Linked DNA regions of Homo sapiens: region 1 is linked to region 2. Evidence: promoter capture Hi-C in 16 types of primary human blood cells and fetal thymus (Javierre and others, 2016). All regions are on one chromosome and are shown on one strand. Each heading gives the region's core, a stretch centred on a gene start or on the middle of the fragment in contact. The rest is flanking DNA. Distances are from core to core; before and after follow the strand shown.

Region 1 (2,700 bases), core at 172-2,671, 100 kb after region 2:
CTTCAATCTTGTTGCCCTGCCTTCCTCAATGTGCAGTTTTCATCATGTAGTCCAAAATGACTGCTACAGCTCCTGCCATCACATTTGCATTCCAGCCAGAGGGAAGAGGGAAAGATGAAAGGGAATGCTCCCTCCTTGCCATCCCATTGGCCAGGATCTAGTCACAAGCTAGATCTAAATACAAGGGAAGCAGGAAAATATAGTCCTTAGTGGACAGCTTTGTGTCCAACTAAAACTTTCATTCATATATTAATAGAAGAGGAGAAGAACAGATACAAAGCAACAAATGATGGTCTCAGCCACAGGAAACAAATGTCCAACCCCAGGATATTTTGTCTGCTAATCTTGAGAGTTAGGAGGGACCATATTTCTCACATCAAGAGTAAAGATTTTTAAAGCAGTGTGAAACTGTGGCTCATGATATGAGGAGATGGGGCCCTGGTGAGTGATAATTGGCCCGTGCTTTGCACAGTCAGGAGCTAGGGAGCCAGCTTCCTTCCTAGGGAGCCAGCAGAGAGGAGCACTATTTCCCACCTCTTCTATCAGTCTCATTGGCAGCTCCCATGGGCAGCTCCTGATTATCTCTAGGGCCTGGCAGAGAAGGGTCCCCTGAGAAGCCACCCACAGTTCCAAAGAAGAGTCCATGAACTAACCACCATGACCCAAAACACTAGTCATTTCCTGGCTCCCAGGGGCTGTGATGGAGCTCTGGATTTCAGAGGCCAAGGTCATGGATGGGATCCCACAAGTCAACCTGAATCCCTGGCTTCAGAGAGCACCACTCACTACCCCTCTCTCCCCAGCCCCCACAACTGGGAACAGCTGGCCCCTGAGCGGGTAGCTCAGTGCAAAGCTATCTGGCTGCTGAATGAAGGCTGACCTCATAGCTGCCTGCCATCCCTGCCCATAGGAGCTTTTCCTGCCTCAGTTCTGGCTGCCCTAAACACCTGTCTCTCCCTGGGCCCAGAGCCTTCACTGTCTCTGTCAGCTGCATAGGACTTTGTAGCATGTCACCTCCTGGACTTCACATTCCTTCATGGAAGGCTCCAAACTTCAGTGCTAAAGTAATGGGCACTTTGTTACTTATGGGGTCTAGGGATAGAAGATGGGAGAGGATCTTTAGCCTTCTATAAGTAAGGGGACGACACATTTTCACAAAGAGAGATGTAGGTATAGAAGTTTTGTTTCTGGGGACTTGGAAGCAAAGGTGTGCACACAGTCAGCCCAGAATTGGGACAACAAAAAAGCCTCAGACCAACAAAGACATGGGATGCAGCTCAAGAATGAGTCCCACAATATGAGCAGCAAATCAGGGTCCCTGAAAACTCTTCTAGGTTGATTCATTCATTCAGAAGGGGCCAGGCAGGAGAGGGCAAACTCAGAGATTCTCTGGCTGGAGAAGTCGCTGCTAATGACTGTCTAGTTCAAGCAACATGCCAGGTTGTGATGGAGAAGAAGCAGGCTCTTAGAAACACTGATTAGGAAGCCCGTCAAAGCCTGCTAGGCATTAGGGACAAAGAAAAAGCCATTTAGTGAGACATCATCCTCACTCCGCCTGCAGCCCCTCTCCGCATACTGTTGTTCTGTCTGGCATTAATATCTGTAAGATATACAGCATGACCAAGATGGGCAAAGAGGCAGACAATGCACACATAAAGAAAGGAACACAGAAACACATTCAGCCTCACAAATAATCAAAGAAAGGCAAATGCAAATAGGCGGCGCTTGATCTTAGCCAAAAGGCTGAGACACAATGAAATGCTAAGAAGTTAGATTTATACCAGTTACATTACTTTTTAATATTTTCCAGCAAAGTCCAATGCTGGCACATCAAAACAGTTCCTCCACCGGCCCTCTTGGCCCAGCATCCTCTTCTGGCATTCCTTGCCCGACCTCATCCCCTATCACAGCTGATTGGGCCTGGACTTCTAGGGTTCCAAGACATAGGAGGGGCTGAGCCAATCAGATTCTCCCTCTTCAAAATTTGAACTCAGAGACCCAGAAATGATGGGCTGGCCTGTTGTGGGTGGATGTGGCATCTCCATATTCCCGGGGAGACTGGTATAGGTCGTGAGCACATGTTTAAAGAGAGAGAGAGGTCAGTCACGTGGGACTTGTTCCCATCAGTTACTGACTGTGCATCTTTGAACAAGTGACTTAGTTTTTCCATATTTTAGTTTCTTCATCAGTAAAATGGTGATAATTATAATTCCTACCCCAGAGGCTAGTTGTGAAAATTAAGATAATCAATGTGAGCAATTGGCATGGTGCCTAGGACAAAGCAAGCCCTCAGAAAATGTGAGCAGTTATATGCTCCGAACTGATAGCTCTGCTAGGTCAAAAATAAATAAAGATAGAGAAAGAGAGATGGAGCAGAGAAAGCAGAGAAGCTGAAACAAAGCAGACCCCTGGGAGCTTGAGGCAGCTGTTTGAGCTCTGGTTGGCTCTCAGTTCCGATTTCCCTGAAGCCTGACTGTACTTGGCTCCCAGTGTGGATGTATCCTCACATTAAACCCTCCTTCATTTACTTTTGGAAAGCAACTTGGCAAACCACATCAAACAGCATAAAAACAGCCTTACCCCCCGACCTGGCCACTTATCTTACAGAAATAATTAATAAGAAGGAAAAAGCCACATGCACAAAGATGTCCATGACCGCCTTATTTATAATAATGACAAACTGGAAGTCATCAAAAGCCC
Region 2 (2,700 bases), core at 143-2,642:
GGACAGACTTATGCTAAAATATTATTCGTTGTTTATCTGATATTCAATTTAATTGGACGTCTTGTATTTTTTTTCCTGGCAGCCCTTGAGGCATTGAAATCTCTAATCCATGTCTGGAAACAGATTGATGGTTCCCGAAAGTCCAGTGGGTATGCCTCATTTGAGAGATCCCTAAGGGCAGGGTCGTGTCTCTCCCCTTACACTGGGAGTTTCCTGAAGCCCAGATACTGAGTTTCACCCTAAAGAAGGCAGCTCTGAGAGCACTATATGTGTCCCCCGTCAGACTGGGAGCTTCCTGAGGACAGGGGCTAAATTTCACCCATGAGAGTAACGCTTCAAGGTCAGTGTCTGTGACCTGTGACACTGGGGTTTCCTGAGGCATGGTCTGTCCGCTTCCTAGAGGGCAAGTCTCTCTCCTCCCTCACGTCTCACTCTCCCACCCCCACCCCACCCCAGGCTGCTGGAGGCTCCTCCTCCATTAGTGTTGCTTCCTGCCCATAGGGGGTGCTAGGGGCCCAGCGGACTGGCCTACGGATGGATGGGACCTGTTTATTGGGACTCGGGGCTTCAGTCCTTCGGGGTTGATGCACTTGAGAATAATGAGGGTGGGGTCCCCAACCTGTGAGGCTTGCTGAGGCAGTTGAGGGCCAGGTCTACTGGGGCCAGAGGCGGTGGCCAGCATGTGGGAGAAGCTCTGGGTGCTGGGTACCCACTGTTTCTTCCAGGAAGGGACAGTGTGGCCCTTGGTACAGAACATCCTGCCCACCTCCTCTCATAACCATTGAAGCCAAGCCCCAGTCCTCCACCAGCCTCTCCAGACCCCACTGCCTAACCTTTGCTTGTGCTGTTCTTTCTGCCAGAAACACTCTGTCTTCCTGCTTTGAGGACAGCTGAAGTCTTGCCACTTCTTCTGGATGCTCTGACCATCAGTAAGGTGGGCTGCTTGTGCCTGGGGGTCTTCTGGTGAAAAGAGCCCTCCATCTACTCCCTCCTTCCTCAACAACTTTGGCCACAGGGGCCAAAGAGGGGGCCAAGGTGGGGGAGGGGAGAGACAGGAACATTGGGGGAGCATAGGCAGAAGGGGAGTAAGAATAGGAACCTCCTTCCCCCCAACCCATCCCCCTGAAGCCCCTTCACAAGTCCCTTCATCCCCTCAGGGCCTCTGAACTCTTTCTCCTTGAAGCTGAGGGAAGCCCTGGAGAAGCGCTTTCCCACGGTCACAGCCTCAACAAACCCCTGCCCCCTTCTCCTTTGACTGCAGCCACCTCAGTCTCACCCTCCGCAGAATGCAGGCCCACTCCGTTGCTGAAGGGCCTCCTCCTTGGGCCAGGGCGCCTGCTTCTGCCAGTGGCATCATCACCCCACTCCTCAGCCGCCAGTCATCAGGTTGGCAATTAGCTACTTCCTCTCAGCTGCATGAGGCCACCAAACGTCACAGCCCCTCCCCTGGCCTGCCGCGGCGGGAGTGCTGGGGGCTGCCCCTACCCTTTGTAGTCAGTGCCAAGTCCTGGCTCAGTCCCCCTTCCCTACAACCTACTGAGTGCTAGGGTAATGAGCCTCCCATCTAGGGAGCTGAAAGCCTCGCTGCCTTCTCCCCGCTTCAAACCTCCTCCCCCATGTCACCCTATCCCATTGGGTGAGGACACTCCCGCTGCCTGGGTGGGGTGATGCCTGCTCAAGGGCACTAGCAGCCTGGGTGGGGCTTAAGACTCAGGTGTCTCTGTCCCCAGTCACAGGCGGTTTTCACCAGCCCCTTACCTGGGGCCCAGGAGTCTGAACTGAAGATGGTGGCAGTTATTTGGGAAGGGGAGAGAAATGGGGACTCATTCTACAGACCCCCAAACATGCAGGGGGCAGGCCCTTCATGAACACCCACATGGGCTCATTTGCCTGTGTCTAGGCACACACACGGTTACAATCTAGGCAATGTATGCTCCACTGCACTGTACCCACATGTGCCCCAGGTGGGCAAGTAAGCCCACTTGCCCAGATACCTCTCATGCCCACACATCCCTCCTCCAGGTGTGTGCATGCAAACTCACTGACATACAGTACTCAAAAAGGCAGTGAGCTTGCTGCCACACCAAAAACAAAACCGGGACCCTACAGAGGAATCTAGAAGCATGGGAGGGAAGGAGAGACCACCCCAACACTCGCTACCCCACAGACCAGGGAATCTTCCTGGGGAAGGATGGGAGGAAGTCTGCACTTCAGGGATATGTGTGGGGTACGCAGGTGGGCCGTGGTGGAAGCAGTTGTGTTGGAGTCTGGGTTGGGGGTGGAGGATGTGGATTTCCAGAGAGAATTGAAAAATTCCAACACATATAAACAAAGGCATGTGATCTTAGGCAGATCACTTAACTTCTTGGGGGCCCCAGTGACTGCATCTGTAAAATGGGAATAATGAGAACACCATTTAAACTTGGTTGTCAAATTTATTTTATTTTTATTTATTTATTTATTTTTAGAGACACGGTCTGACTTTGTTACCCCGGCTGGAGTGCAGTGGTGCAATCATGGCTCACTGCAGCCTTAACCTCCTGGGCTCAAGTGATCCTCTCGCCAAGGCTAGGATAAGTAGCTAGGACTACAGATGCGCCCCATCACGCCCAGCTAATTTTACAACTTCTGTAGAGATGGAGTGTTGCTGGGTTGCCCAGGCTGGTCTTGAATTCCTGGGCTCAAGCGATCCTCCTGTGT

What was found. Contacts are between HindIII fragments. The CHiCAGO score rates a contact against its expected background, and 5 or more counts as called.
Region 1: a fragment that was not itself captured here is called in contact with the fragment with the promoter of LINC03040 in region 2 in 1 of 17 cell types (monocytes); the score reaches 5.2 in monocytes.

Annotation. Positions count from the first base shown.
Region 1 is chr6:43,895,910-43,898,609 of GRCh38, reverse strand. The region is part of intron 1 of LINC01512 (long intergenic non-protein coding RNA 1512); the gene reads right to left. All of the region lies in intron 2 of LOC105375070 (a long non-coding RNA gene), which reads right to left. Among named protein-coding and RNA genes, the nearest start is that of LINC01512, 6.2 kb to the right of the region's middle. The HindIII fragment of the contact is 3,034 bases long and covers 1-2,700 here.
Region 2 is chr6:43,999,277-44,001,976 of GRCh38, reverse strand. LINC03040 (long intergenic non-protein coding RNA 3040) reads right to left here and starts at 1,392. Exons shown (of 3, transcript NR_160956.1): 1 at 1,277-1,392. It overlaps SCIRT (stem cell inhibitory RNA transcript), which reads left to right. Exons shown (of 5, transcript NR_125864.1): 2 at 861-934; 3 at 1,262-1,386; 4 at 2,469-2,700. LOC124901321 (a long non-coding RNA gene) reads right to left here. Exons shown (of 2, transcript XR_007059591.1): 2 at 2,423-2,700. RefSeq lists an enhancer at 1,136-1,285. The HindIII fragment of the contact is 11,725 bases long and covers 1-2,700 here.